Linked DNA regions of Homo sapiens: regions 2, 3, 4 and 5 are each linked to region 1. Evidence: promoter capture Hi-C in 16 types of primary human blood cells and fetal thymus (Javierre and others, 2016). All regions are on one chromosome and are shown on one strand. The core of a region is centred on a gene start or on the middle of the fragment in contact, and the rest is flanking DNA. Distances in the headings are between cores, read along the strand shown.

The links. Contacts are between HindIII fragments. The CHiCAGO score rates a contact against its expected background, and 5 or more counts as called.
Region 2: the fragment with the promoter of ARHGEF2 here is called in contact with the fragment with the promoter of HCN3 in region 1 in 4 of 17 cell types (neutrophils, fetal thymus, naive CD8 T cells and 1 more); the score reaches 7.3 in neutrophils.
Region 3: a contact is called between the fragment with the promoter of GON4L here and the fragment with the promoter of HCN3 in region 1, in 11 of 17 cell types (fetal thymus, non-activated CD4 T cells, naive CD8 T cells and 8 more). The highest score is 17.3, in fetal thymus.
Region 4: a contact is called between the fragment with the promoter of RIT1 here and the fragment with the promoter of HCN3 in region 1, in 5 of 17 cell types (monocytes, fetal thymus, activated CD4 T cells and 2 more). The highest score is 8.1, in monocytes.
Region 5: a contact is called between the fragment with the promoter of RXFP4 here and the fragment with the promoter of HCN3 in region 1, in 11 of 17 cell types (total B cells, fetal thymus, non-activated CD4 T cells and 8 more). The highest score is 14.0, in total B cells.

Annotation. Positions count from the first base shown.
Region 1 is chr1:155,276,156-155,278,855 of GRCh38, forward strand. It overlaps HCN3 (hyperpolarization activated cyclic nucleotide gated potassium channel 3), which reads left to right and starts at 1,308. Exons shown (of 8, transcript NM_020897.3): 1 at 1,308-1,713. The coding sequence starts at 1,436. The HindIII fragment of the contact is 9,883 bases long and covers 426-2,700 here.
Region 2 is chr1:155,977,275-155,979,974 of GRCh38, forward strand. It overlaps ARHGEF2 (Rho/Rac guanine nucleotide exchange factor 2), which reads right to left and starts at 1,273. Exons shown (of 22, transcript NM_001162383.2): 1 at 1,091-1,273. The coding sequence starts at 1,153. ARHGEF2-AS2 (ARHGEF2 antisense RNA 2) reads left to right here and starts at 1,365. Exons shown (of 3, transcript NR_183460.1): 1 at 1,365-1,420; 2 at 2,046-2,181. RefSeq lists silencers at 1,268-1,427, 1,488-1,537 and enhancers at 1,878-1,947, 2,409-2,700, 2,418-2,467. The HindIII fragment of the contact is 25,844 bases long and covers 1-2,700 here.
Region 3 is chr1:155,855,964-155,858,663 of GRCh38, forward strand. It overlaps GON4L (gon-4 like), which reads right to left and starts at 1,251. Exons shown (of 32, transcript NM_001282860.2): 1 at 1,184-1,251. RefSeq lists enhancers at 1,131-1,330, 1,617-2,204. The HindIII fragment of the contact is 10,340 bases long and covers 1-2,700 here.
Region 4 is chr1:155,910,057-155,912,756 of GRCh38, forward strand. It overlaps RIT1 (Ras like without CAAX 1), which reads right to left and starts at 1,293. Exons shown (of 6, transcript NM_006912.6): 1 at 1,187-1,293; 2 at 600-748; 3 at 394-450. The coding sequence starts at 705. The HindIII fragment of the contact is 5,298 bases long and covers 1-2,700 here.
Region 5 is chr1:155,940,340-155,943,039 of GRCh38, forward strand. It overlaps RXFP4 (relaxin family peptide/INSL5 receptor 4), which reads left to right and starts at 1,299. Exons shown (of 1, transcript NM_181885.3): 1 at 1,299-2,700. The coding sequence starts at 1,371. The coding sequence ends at 2,495. RefSeq lists a silencer at 739-1,033 and an enhancer at 1,353-1,852. The HindIII fragment of the contact is 9,136 bases long and covers 1-2,680 here.

The DNA of each region.
Region 1 (2,700 bases), core at 58-2,557:
GATCACTTGAGCTCTGAGTTCAAAACCAGCCTGGGCAACATAGTGTGACCTCATCTCTAAAATAATAATAATAATGGTAGCCCTGTGACATGAGTTGCTCAAAACAGTGGTGCCCTGGCTGCTGTAAAAAAGCTCTAGAATAGACCCTACCTGAGGAAAGGAGAGTTGGAAATGTGTTCCTAGGTTTCCTAGAGAAAGCAAGATCTGAACCAACTGTTCGAAAGTGAATTGGAGGAGAATACCAGGCAGAGAAAATATTTGCAAAAGCATAGAGACAAGGCAGCACAAAGTCTTTCAGCATGATTGGGGCTGTGGCTTTCAAGAGAGGGACTGTCAGAAGAGAGACTGTTGAAACTAGGTCCAAATTTTTTGGGCCTGGTACACCATGCTAAGCAGCTTAAATGTACCCCTGTAGAAGATGGGAAAGCTTGATGGGCTTCAAGCAAGTGACACAGCCATAGTTGGATTTTAGGAAGGTAACTGGCAGGGAATGGAAGAAGAATTGGCCTGGAAGAGGTTGAAGACTCTTTTAGAGGTTTCCGAAGTAATTTAAGTGAAAAAATGCTGAGGGCTTGAAATGAGGCAGTGGTAATAAGAATTGGAGATGAAGGGGAGAATTTGAGATATTTAGGAATTTGTAGCACTTCGCATAGCACTGCAATTTACCTGTCTGTCGTTGGGCACAGATGAGCAGTGGCTTTATGGCTAGGCCTTTGTTTTTGTTTTGTTTTGTGTTGTTTTCCATTACTACATGGAGATGCTAAGACTAGGACTTTTGTATTCATTTTTGTTTCCTCAGCATCCACTCAATGACAGGCAGAGTTGCACTTGGTGAAGGCTGACAGAATGAATTAGGAAATTAAATACTAGGGGAAGCAGTTCGGAGGAGACCAAAAGACAAGAATATGCCTAGGACAGTGTTGAGAGAAGACGGGAGCAGGACAGAAGTCCCTGGGCGAGAGTGGAGAAGAATCCCAAAAGCCATTTCCACTTCTTCCATTGGTCCCCAATCCCTCTCCCTCCCAAGTCCTTCAAGCTACAAACCCGCGTCCGATTTTCCCGCCACTGCAGGGGGCTCCTCCTCCCTGGTTCTCAGTGGATGAAAGGCCAACGCTAGGCCACGCCCTCTCCCTGGCTCAGGCTGCGCTCCCCGCCTTCTTTGCTAAGCCACGCCCCTCTCGGAGTTCCTCCAGGATCCCGGCGTCCCAGCCCCGCCCGGTCTTGGCGCGGCCCTCGCCAGGGGGCGCCGCGCAGCCCGCCCGCCGCCCGCCAGTCTAGCACACACCCCCTCCGCCCCGCGCGCCGGCGATTCCGAGCCTACGACGCCTCCGCTAGAGCCCGCGGGGCTGCGCCGACTCCTGCTCTGGAGGGGTTGCGGGTACCTGATGGCCACAGAGGGCTCTAGGAGGCCGAGCGTGTAAGCGGGGTGGGCGCCATGGAGGCAGAGCAGCGGCCGGCGGCGGGGGCCAGCGAAGGGGCGACCCCTGGACTGGAGGCGGTGCCTCCCGTTGCTCCCCCGCCTGCGACCGCGGCCTCAGGTCCGATCCCCAAATCTGGGCCTGAGCCTAAGAGGAGGCACCTTGGGACGCTGCTCCAGCCTACGGTCAACAAGTTCTCCCTTCGGGTGTTCGGCAGCCACAAAGCAGTGGAAATCGAGCAGGAGCGGGTGAAGTCAGCGGGGGCCTGGATCATCCACCCCTACAGCGACTTCCGGTATTGGGGGCTTGGCGGGGAGGGCAGGGTACATCAATCCCACCCTCGCGGGCAGCGACACCGGGACCCGGCCCGCCCCACCCTCCACGGTCACTTCATTTCCAGCCCGGGGTCCCTTGGTGGGGCGGGAGAGTCACTTGCACCAGTCTAGCCTGGGAATTCCTGGGCGGGTATCCCCTGCCGGAGGTCCTCCGTGCCTGGACAGGCTGGGGGCACCAGAAGGGGCAAGCAGACATCAGGGGATCTCCAGAGACCTGGATTTCCTCTTTCAGGAACCCGGGACCCCATCCGGACCAAAGGAACTACCAGAGTTTGGGACCCCTGCCTCCTCCAGTCCTGCTTGCTGGAGATCTAGGAAATTATATTCTAAGTATCGGGGCCAGTCTGAGGGAGAAGCCGAGCTCCGCCATCTCCCATCCCCACACCCGCTCCTTAGCACCTGCCTAGTTCAGCATGACAGACTACCAGGAAAAATAGGGACGCTGAAGGGGGCGGGGGGTCCAGACCTCAGCTCTGGTCGCTGTCCCTAGTGCTGAAGGCGGGGGCGGCGGGGCGGGGCCGAGACTCAGAGTGACTGAGGCGGCAAAGCAGGGGCAGGACCACCACCCAGGTGACTCCCAGAGAAGGAACAGAGGGTGGGGGTGGGGCCATTTCACAGTCTCCGTCAGGGTGTACCTCTACATCAAGGTCGCTAGGGGAAGACAGCAGCCCTGTCCTTGGGGGAAATGAAGGACAGCTCTTGGATGAGGCAGGGATGTGTGCAAAGCACCTAACCTGGGGAACTAAAGAAGCAGAGAGGAAGAGGTGTGAATCTGGAGCCTCGAAATACAGTTGTAGACCCAGACATTATCTTGAATCCACATATATACACACTCCCTCTATGTCTCTCTTCCTCCCATTGTTCCTTTCACTCCTGTCTTTGCTGCCTCGTTCCCACCCAGCCAGTGCGCCTTTTCTAGTCTCCTGTGGATCTCACTCTCTTCCCTC
Region 2 (2,700 bases), core at 23-2,522, 700 kb after region 1:
TTCCTTTCAGCTCTGACTTATTCACCTGCAAGTCAGCTTCATCATTTCCTGGGGTCTGGGTGTGGAAAGGTCAGGGCACTTGGGAATGGGGCTGGGTACAAAGGCAGGGATAAAGGGTACTTGGAGAGGAGTGGCCAAGAGGTCATGATGGGGGAGGCGTGTGGATAATTATACACCCAGACTCATGAAATGCTAGGTGAAGGGACCCCAAGACGAGCAGATAAGAGAATGAGAGCGCTGGGGGAGGAGGAGGAAGGGCAGGGAACACAATGCATAGTGCCAGGTGTGTCAGCCTAAGGGTTTCAGGTTGGGAGAAGGAAGAGCTAGGAGGCTGGCGGGGCAGATAGGGATGGAGGCCCTATGTTCCAGGCAGAAGGGCTCAGGATGGAGGAAAGGAGCCCAGCTACACAAAGACCTCTGCTCCCTTCACCTAGAGGTGATGGTTTGGGGGAAGTAAGCCGTCCCTCGGCCGTCCCGACCCCAGCCACCCGCCCACCCAGAGGGGAGAACTGAATCACAGCTGGAAAGTCCATTTGCGAGGAGAGGAGGAGCTGACTTTTGTCTTGGAGGGGTGGTGGTGGTGGTGGGAGGAAGCCGGGAAACCACCCCCTCCCGTCCCCTCCGCCGGATGGCGGGGACAAAGGGGGAACGACCAAGCCAGCGATTGGGGAGTGATGGGGGGTCGCCACGCCAAGCCCAAGCCGGTGGGGCCCGGGGTGAGAGGAGGTGCCGGAGCTTCCACCGCCCCCACCCGCGAGACACACACCTCCCTCTTCCCGCTCCGTCCCTTACCGGAGCAACTTTCTTTCAAGCGGCCTAAAGCACTCGGTCCCGCCGGCTTGGAGGCGACCAAGCCCAGGTCCGCTCCGCTCCCTCCCGGGATCCCAGCACCGTCGCGTCTGCCGCTCCCCCCACCCCTACCCACTCGCTCGCAGTCCCCACCCACCCCGTCCCGCCGCTCGCCGATCCACCGCTCCGCCCGATTTTGGCGCCCAGAAAGCAGGCGGGGAGACAGGAGATGCACCGCGGGTGCCGGGGTTCGGGGAGCACCCGAGGACCGCGGCGAAAGGAGAGGGGTTTCCGAGCCCACCTTGCTCGCCAGCTCTCTGCTCCGGTCGATCCGCGCCCGCGTGAGGGATTCGATCCGAGACATAATCGGACGGGGGGACCAGGGAGGACGCGGCGCGGACCCCGGCGTCCTGTATTGTTGGGGGAAGGCGGGGGGAGGGGTTCGGCCCGCACGCGTTGGTCTCGGGGACAGGAAGTCTGACTCCCCTCGCCCGGCACCCAGCACCAGTTCCTCAAACCCGAGTCTCCTCCCCCGCCCAAGCTCAGGAAGGGGGTAGGCGGAGCGGAGGGAGGGCGGGGTGCCCGCGCGCAGGACGGGACGCCAGGGTTTGTGTGGGGGCAGCTCGGAGAGGTACGAGGGTCCTAGGACAGGTTTGAGAGGCCCCTCTGCCTATTTCCCCTCCAGCGCCTGGGGGCGCCCTCTAGCCCCAGAGACCCGCCTCTTAGCTCTTCTTTTCCTAAAACCCAGCCCCGCAGCCCTCGCCGGACCCAGGTTGGCCCTTTCCCCTCTGCCCTCCCCTTCTTCCCTTCTCCCCTCGCCCTCCCTTTTTCCCTCCCCTACTGCGTTACCTCAGTCTTTAAAGACCCGCAGGCAGGAGAATTCCATCCGCCCCCAGCTCTTAGAAAACCCAGGACCAGTTCCTTCCTGGCCTTCGGGGTCCCATCAAAGCAGGCCTGAGCAGACTGACCCCTTTTACGATTGGGGGCAGGGGTGGCCAGAGGGAGAGGAAATCAAAGGAGAACTAAACGCTGGATCTTCAGTACACGGGAAGGGTAGGATTCACTCCCAGAGGTCGAAGAACAGAGAGGAGAGAATTCTCCCACATGCCCCACCCTTCTGGGGCCTTCCTGACCCCACTCTGCCCTCCTCCTAGCTCCGCCTCTGCCAGCTACTTTGGGGGACTAGGTTGGGATTCTCCACTTTTACCGAAGGCCTTCCATGTGTCTAACTGCAGTTCTCTCTGTTGCAAGTTAAGCCGGAACTGAAAGACCAGAAACCAGCCTGCCCTAGTCAAAGAAAGTTAGGGCCCAACCAGCCTCTCCCCAAGAAGCAGGGTAAGGTGGGGCATTCATCTCTCTGGACCCTTTTCCCCAGCCTGAGCCAGCCTTTGGGTGAGTTTCCTGCTATTGGGAAAATTCCTCCTCCAGTCTAACTATGATCACTTACAGTGAAGTTCATTTCTGCCTCTCAGGGTCTCCCATTTCTCTGGAGAAACCAGAAGCACAGAGAGGCCTGGGACAGAGCCTTCGGTTAGCAGGGTCCTGCCTGATTCTGGCCCCAAAGGGCGTGGGAGAAGAAGGGAGGGAGGGGAGACCCAACCCAGATCCAGCAGTTCTCTGCCCTGGCTCAGCAGTGGGGCCAGGCTGCAGGTTTCAAGCCCAACTCAGCACTCTTGTAGGTGCCAATTTTAGCCTCTGCCACTATTTTTGGGCTCCACTACCTCACCACTGGCTGAGCTGGTTGGGCTCCTCACCCCCAGCACTACCCCCACACTGCCCCTCCGGCTTCCCCTCCTTCCTAGCAACTCCTTCACCTCCTTCTTCACCCATTCCCCTGTTTAGAATCCTTAAATAGCAAAGACCAGGAAAAAGGAAGAGGAAATAAACCGTGCCCAGTTCAGGCTGGATGGA
Region 3 (2,700 bases), core at 1-2,500, 580 kb after region 1:
AGAGGGAGACTCTGTCAAAAAAAAAAAAAAAAAAAAAAAAAAAAGGCATCTTATTACCCAGGAAAACTTTACTGTCATAAATAGATCCAATAATAGAATAAGCCGCCTTGTGTTAGATCACTGGCAATGTTCAAGCGAAGCCTGAATGTCCACTTATCAGAGTACTAGATGAAAGCCTGAACTAGAGAACTGAAAAATAAAAGTTATTTGTAACTCTAAGCGTCTAAGGTTAGATTTCTCTTTCTTCTTTTCTTTCTTTCTCTCTCTCTCTCTTTCTTTCCAGAGACAAGGTCTCGCTCTGTTGCCCAGACCGGAGTGCAGTGGCAAGATCCTAGTTCACTGCAGCCTCAGACTCCTGGGCTCCAGTGACCCTCTGGCCTCGGCCTCCCGAGTAGCTAGGACTACAAGGCACTTGCCACCACCCTCAACGACTTTTTTTCTTTTTTTTTTTTTGTAGAGACGGGGTCTCGATTTGTTACCCAGGCTGGTCTCAAACTCCTGGCCTCAAGCGATCCTCCCGCCCCAGCCTCCCAAAGTGCTAGGATTAGAGGCGTGAGCCACCGCGCCCGACCTACAGTTAGTTTTAAACCTCCCTTCTGTTTCTCCAAGACATTAGGGGAGATTCTCCATCCCCTCAATCAACTGATGTAATTAAAACTCAGTAACTAAAGCTCAATAAAACATGAAGATTTCGTTGATTCCTGTGAGAGATGGTGGTGACCTTATAAGAAATAGAATGGGAGTAGCCAGGGCAGCTCTTTTATTTCACAGATAATTACTGAGATCAAAAAAAGGGGAAAAAAAGAAAAAGAAAGAAAGAAAAAGAAGGAAAGAAAGACAGCTACTTCAGCTCCAGGCACCTCAAACACAGCAGTAGCTCGACAGAATCCACTTTTTTGGGAACCCAAGTCGGACCAGCAGGGTGAATGAATGCCAATGTGGAGGCAGCCCCGGCACGGCCCTCTCCTAGGAAAACATTTTCAAAAGGGGTCCTAACCGCGCTTCCACCTCGGTGCCCAGGGCTGGCTCCAGTCCCCATTCCCAACTAGACACTGGACTTCACGCCCTTAACTTCCGCCACGCACCCAGCGCCCACCCTCAGACCCGACCTTCTCAACCTGGACATCGTTCGTCCAGGTGTCCCAGCTCCCACCTGCCTCTTCCCACCCCACCACACACAAACCTGTACCCTCACCAGCCGGCCTGATTCCACGGAAACGGCTTTGGCACCACCGGAAGTCAGCCAACAACAGCGAATTGCGTGCGCGTCCCCGAGCCTCGGAGCGCCGCGCCGCAGTGCATCAAGGAGCATGCGCCTAACACTATGCGCCATCCCATTTTAGGGCAGAGTGAAGCCACAACGTTAGTGCGTCAGTTATTGGCAAAAAAATTTAAAGGCACTACTTAGCTTTCTCTGCCCATGGAGTTATCCTACTCAAAACTGAGGTTAAGATTCAGTGGTTTAGATTAACAGCTAATTTGGGGGCCAGGCGCGGTGGCTCACGCCTGTAATCCCGGCACCTTGGGAGACGGAGGCGGGCGGATTACCTGAGGTCGGGAGTTCGAGATCACCCTGGCTAACATGGTGAAACCCCGTCTCTACTAAATATACAAAATTAGCTGGGCGTGGTGGCGCACGCCTGTAATCCCAGCTACTCCGGAGGCTGAGGCAGGAGAATCGCTTGAACCCGGGAGACGGAGGTGGCAGTGAGCCGGCATCGTGCCACTGCACTCCAACCTGAGCGACAGTGAGACTCTGTATCAAAAAAAAAAAAAGATTAACAACTAATTTTTCTCACTACGAGTCACCTGGAACACAGGACCAAGGGACTGAAGAAGTCATAAAATGCCAGAAAAAGAAGTCTCTAAATTACAAATAGTGCAGGCTCCTGATTAAAACTAAGGCACTCTTGGACTCAGGCTATAGTAATTATTCATATATGTACAATATTCTGCATTTTACAAAATGCTCTCACATTTTCTTAGGTGACTTGGTCTCCACAATAGACTGTAAGATTATTATATCATATTCCAGTTTGCACAGGACAAAGTTCTGGCTCATCTGAGTAGGTGATTTCACAACGGTACACAGACAGCTATCAAGGAGAATCAGGTATTAAGTCTCCTAACTCTAGCTAATAATGCATTGACCCAGTGTCCAGGAGGCTGCCTGGGGTGTAACAGATGTTCAATAATTCAATACGTGCTTTTTGAATGAGCGAATGAATGAATGACTTCTAAAATGATGTTATTTCCACTTTTCTAGAAAAACAATGTCTGGAATCCACGGAGATTAAAAAAATAATAAAAAACAGAATGTCAAAAGGTGGAAAAATACTTTCAACCCCCTCATTTTACAGGTAAACCACCAACACAAATTTATACATTTGAACTAATCCTATCTGTAAACAGAATCCAACGGATGAAATTATCCACAGCCAAAATGAAGGTTGAAATTTATGCAAACATGGCAGTAGTCTGACTAACCTGAATCACACCAACTCTCCCAAATACCAAGGAAGACTCCAGAAGCTCGGAGTTTCATGTGTGTTGTTCTTTGACCTACAGAATACACAGATCTTTCGGTTTGGCCTCTCTCATACGAAACCCTAAGCACTTGAGGTTCATGAAAAAAATTCAACACTGATTAACTTTGGCACTTTTCATTAGTTGTTTTTTTTTTTTTTTTTAAACAGCTTT
Region 4 (2,700 bases), core at 43-2,542, 630 kb after region 1:
CAGCCTGGCTCTACTTGTTTCTCTGCTTCCTTTTGTGGAAGTTCAAACCAGCTGACTCACAGTTACAGAGCGAGTCTCAAGTCATACCCTTAGAGAAGTGACAGCAAGAAAAGGCTTCGTTAAGTGGCCTGTATACAACCATAAAAAAATACAACAAAGAGAGTTGTCCCATTAATGTTCAGTAAGAGACAAAGACTAAAGATGGCTTATGACATAAAGTCTGAAAAAAAAAGAAATATTCAGTTGCTTACCAACTGCTGATACCCTTGTTTCTAAATAAATCTGAATTAGACTCCAAAAAAGCCTCAAAATATAAATAGTTAGAAACTACTGATATTCATTAAGATATTTTTATGGGGTATATTTGGAAACATAAGTGATGATCTGGCTTACCAATGGTGGGATCATGATCTTCTGGGAATCGGTGGCTGATGAACTGCATGGTCATGGCTTCAAAAGAAGAAATAAAAGTCAAATCCTCACAAAGGTGACCCACAGAGAGAATTTTAAGTATTAACATTGCAAGATAGCAAGTATCCCATCTGGTCATTTAAGTACTTTTCATCCATGCTTCCTGTCAAATGGAAAATGTTACCTACCACTCTTCCCTACACCACCAGCACCCAGCATCACTAGTTTGTACTCCCGTGAGAGCCCAGCGGGGCTGCTACAGCAGCTACCAACTGGGCGAGTTCCAGAATCCATTGTCCTCTTGGGGCCTTCCTCGGTTGCCCCGAGGAAAAGCCACCTAGAAAAGGAGGAGGAAATGCTTAATCCAGGATGGAGACACCACGGCGACAGCCCTCAAGCCAGTGCCTTACCTTTCCATACATATTCTGGCCTGTCCCTCTTACTCTGGCCTGTCCCTCTTGCTCACCACTGCACCCTTTCGGGTGGCCCTAAGAAACCCCCCCATCTTCACCCTCCCTCCTAGACAGTTCAGTCACATGACACATCACAGGTTTTACTTTTTCCAAAGAGAAAAATAAAAAGATACAAATAAATTTACGTCTCGGCACAGTAGGGACAAGGAGAAAGTTTTGGGAAGAAAGGGATGCGGCCCCTTAGGCCGCAGGGGTTCTCTCACGTCTGCGGTACCCAGAGGTTCCGCCCCCTCCCCATTCTCCTCCGAACCCCCTCCCCACCCCCAGCTGCTGCTCCGCCGCCAGACTCCCCACCCCTCTACCTCACAAGCCGACGCCCTGCTGCTCCTACTGGTCAGTGGGGACTGGAACACCACAGCCGGTCGGGTCACGCACTTCGTCTTCCTTCACTCGCGGAGGCTCCGGCACTGACCTGTGACCCCTCCCGCAACCGAGTAAGATGGCGCCACCGGCGCCCGAGTCGCGGAAGGAGGGGCGGGGCCACTCAGTGACGCCCACAGCCTGCCCCGCCCTCTTCCCGCCCCTCCCAGGTCCCTAAAACCCAGTTCCGGGACCCACCGCTGAAGGTCCTCTGGTCACCTACCCAACCTAGGGTGTATGCACTCACAGACAAGGGTATTTAATCACGAGTAGAAAGTAAATTATTTACACAAAAGGGAAGGGAGTACGTGATAAGAGACATGCAGGGACACTTAAATTAACAACTTACCGAGGGTTGTTTGCTGCTTGTGGGAAAAAAAAAAACCCAAAACTAATTTGACCCAATGTAATGAGAGGAAGGGAGGACAGGGGCACCCCCCAAATCCTCCTAAAACACAGGATTTCAGTCAAGTCTACCGGGGATGACTACTCATAGGAGAAAAATGACTTTCCTAAAGGAGCGGCCACAATGACTTTTGCTATTGAAACCTAAATTCATTCTCAGAAACCAGATGTTCACAACACTCCCTAATCAGAGTTCTGTATGTATTTTAAACACGTATAAGACACACAAAAACTTGTTTTAAATAAATGTACCACACTCTGGCAGGAAAGAGAGCTCTGAGTTAACAGAGGCCTTGAGTTAAATACAGAACTGAAGCGCAGCCACTATAACCATATTCCCCTCTATTTACGTAGCACAGGTGCTAGAAGAAACTGACACGAAAATTGTTCTCATGCAGCTCTGCCTACCACTGTTCTTTTTAAATGTCTTTCTGGGCCGGGCGGGCGCGGTGGCTCACACCTGTAATCCCAGCACTCTGGGAGGCCGAGGCAGGTGAGTCATGAGGTCAAGAAATAAGAGACCATCCTGGCCAACATGTAAAACCGTCTCTACTAAAAATACAAAAGAATTAGCTGGGTGTGGTGGCATGCGCCTATAAGTCCCAGCTACTCGGGAGGCTGAGGCAGGAGAATCACTTGAACCTGGGAGGTGGAGGTTGCAGTTAGCTGGCTGAGAGGGTGCCACTGCACTCCAGCCTGGCAACAGAGCAAAACTCCGTCTCAAAATTTAAGTCTTTCTGGCCAGGAGTGCTGGCTCACGCCTGTAATCCCAGGACTTTGGGAGGCTGAAGTGGGCTGATCACTTGAGGATCAGGAGTTCAAGACCAGCCTGGCCAAAATGGTGACTCCCTGTCTCTACTAAAAATATAAAAATTAGTTGGGCATGGTGGTAGGTGCCTATAATCCCAGCTACTCAGGAGGCTGAGGCTGGAGAACCACTTGAACCCAGGAGGTTGCGGTGAGCCAGGATTGCACCATTCCACTCCAGCCTGGGTGACAGAGCGAGACTCCATCTCAAAAAAAAATAAAATGTCTTTCCAAGAATAACATA
Region 5 (2,700 bases), core at 49-2,548, 660 kb after region 1:
TGCTGATTTATTGTCGCAAAGGGCCCCTCTCTTCCCTCAGCACTCCAAAGGAACTGAACATCGAACGTTATCTTAATTAGCTGGCAGAGGGCAAGAAGGGGCTGAATATATTGGAATCCTTGAGAAAGCCTTACTCTTTTACCTATCCACCTCCTGCCTTCTCTTTGTCCCCACCTCAGCTCCTTCTGCAGTAGGTAGAGATGTAGGCAATGAAAGGGGAGGGCCCAATGAAGCATTTTTTTTTTCCAGTTATGATTGAGATCATGGGGAGACAGGATGAGGTGTGGTGAGGGCGTATCTCAGGATCCTTAGCTCTGACATGGGGTTTGCAGGAGAGAGTAGGGGGACCGCTGAGCTCTGTCCACAGACTAGAGCAGGAAAGGGGGGAAAGGCGGCGATAGAGGTTAGCAGGAATGTTTAATTATCAGGAGCAGGAACAGAACTGAGGGCATGCCCAGGTCCACACAGGCCCTCATAGGCCCAGTGTTCCCAGTGGGGAGGAAACAGGAAGCTGTGACTTCCTCTCTCTTTTCCCTCCCTGCTCTTAGCCTCAAGGTCACTGCTGCTGAGATGAATTCCAACCTGTTTTAGTTGGCACTGTTCCCTGGGCATGGTAATAGCCTCTCAGTACCCTTCTGCCACAAACACCCCAAACTTCTCCTTTGAAATAATATTCATACAAATTGCTATTTCACATGTGTTCTCTCATTGCATCATGCCACTCCTGTGAAGCAGACTTACCTGAAAATTTTAAGCAAGAAAACAGGCTTAGGGGAGTAAAGTAACTCTCCCAGTCACACGGCTAGTGAGCAGCAGGTCTGGGACTCCGCAGCCTCCGCTCTTTCCTCTCTTGGACACCCATGCTGATTCCCTGCCTCTATGCCACCTCCCAGGCCCCTTGCTTTGGGCCCCAAGGGAACACTTTCTGCAGAGGAGGGAGGCCTCTGCACTGTTAGGAACAGAGGCAGCTCTAGTTTGGTTCCTGTCATCTCTGGGACAGGGAACCTCCAGCTCTCTCCCTGGGGTGGAGGCTTGGGGCTGCCCTCCATAGCGGGGTAACTCTCCCTTCTCCCCTCCCTCTCTGCCATTTAGAGCCCCTCTTACAGGCGGGCGCATGCACATATACCCTGGCATTCAGGCTGTGCCTCGCCCTGCCCCACCTACCACCAATCTTGACCAACAGGAAGGTGGTGGGTTGTCCTTTCCACACCCCTCCCTCTGAGGTGTGGGCGTGGGCCAGGGCTCACCAGAGGCCCCAGAGAAGCACTTAATTCTACAGCCTCCTTCCTAGAGCCTTCAGTGGCCTCTGCCAGTCTGGCAGACACTTGCAGACCTCTCTTCTCAGCACCACCAATCTCTGATGCCCTGCGATGCCCACACTCAATACTTCTGCCTCTCCACCCACATTCTTCTGGGCCAATGCCTCCGGAGGCAGTGTGCTGAGTGCTGATGATGCTCCGATGCCTGTCAAATTCCTAGCCCTGAGGCTCATGGTTGCCCTGGCCTATGGGCTTGTGGGGGCCATTGGCTTGCTGGGAAATTTGGCGGTGCTGTGGGTACTGAGTAACTGTGCCCGGAGAGCCCCTGGCCCACCTTCAGACACCTTCGTCTTCAACCTGGCTCTGGCGGACCTGGGACTGGCACTCACTCTCCCCTTTTGGGCAGCCGAGTCGGCACTGGACTTTCACTGGCCCTTCGGAGGTGCCCTCTGCAAGATGGTTCTGACGGCCACTGTCCTCAACGTCTATGCCAGCATCTTCCTCATCACAGCGCTGAGCGTTGCTCGCTACTGGGTGGTGGCCATGGCTGCGGGGCCAGGCACCCACCTCTCACTCTTCTGGGCCCGAATAGCCACCCTGGCAGTGTGGGCGGCGGCTGCCCTGGTGACGGTGCCCACAGCTGTCTTCGGGGTGGAGGGTGAGGTGTGTGGTGTGCGCCTTTGCCTGCTGCGTTTCCCCAGCAGGTACTGGCTGGGGGCCTACCAGCTGCAGAGGGTGGTGCTGGCTTTCATGGTGCCCTTGGGCGTCATCACCACCAGCTACCTGCTGCTGCTGGCCTTCCTGCAGCGGCGGCAACGGCGGCGGCAGGACAGCAGGGTCGTGGCCCGCTCTGTCCGCATCCTGGTGGCTTCCTTCTTCCTCTGCTGGTTTCCCAACCATGTGGTCACTCTCTGGGGTGTCCTGGTGAAGTTTGACCTGGTGCCCTGGAACAGTACTTTCTATACTATCCAGACGTATGTCTTCCCTGTCACTACTTGCTTGGCACACAGCAATAGCTGCCTCAACCCTGTGCTGTACTGTCTCCTGAGGCGGGAGCCCCGGCAGGCTCTGGCAGGCACCTTCAGGGATCTGCGGTTGAGGCTGTGGCCCCAGGGCGGAGGCTGGGTGCAACAGGTGGCCCTAAAGCAGGTAGGCAGGCGGTGGGTCGCAAGCAACCCCCGGGAGAGCCGCCCTTCTACCCTGCTCACCAACCTGGACAGAGGGACACCCGGGTGAAGGGCGCAAGCTGAACACACTCCTCTTTCTGAGATCCACCAAGTGTAGGATCCTTGAGTCCTGGGGAGAAGCTGCCCTCTCTGCCAGGCTGCAGTGCCCTCAGGGAAAAGTCTGATCTTTGATCCCCAACTCTGGGTGTGGTGAATGGGGGAGGCGGGGGCTCAGATCAGAGCTGGATGTGACAAAGCTTAAGTCTTTATTTGGA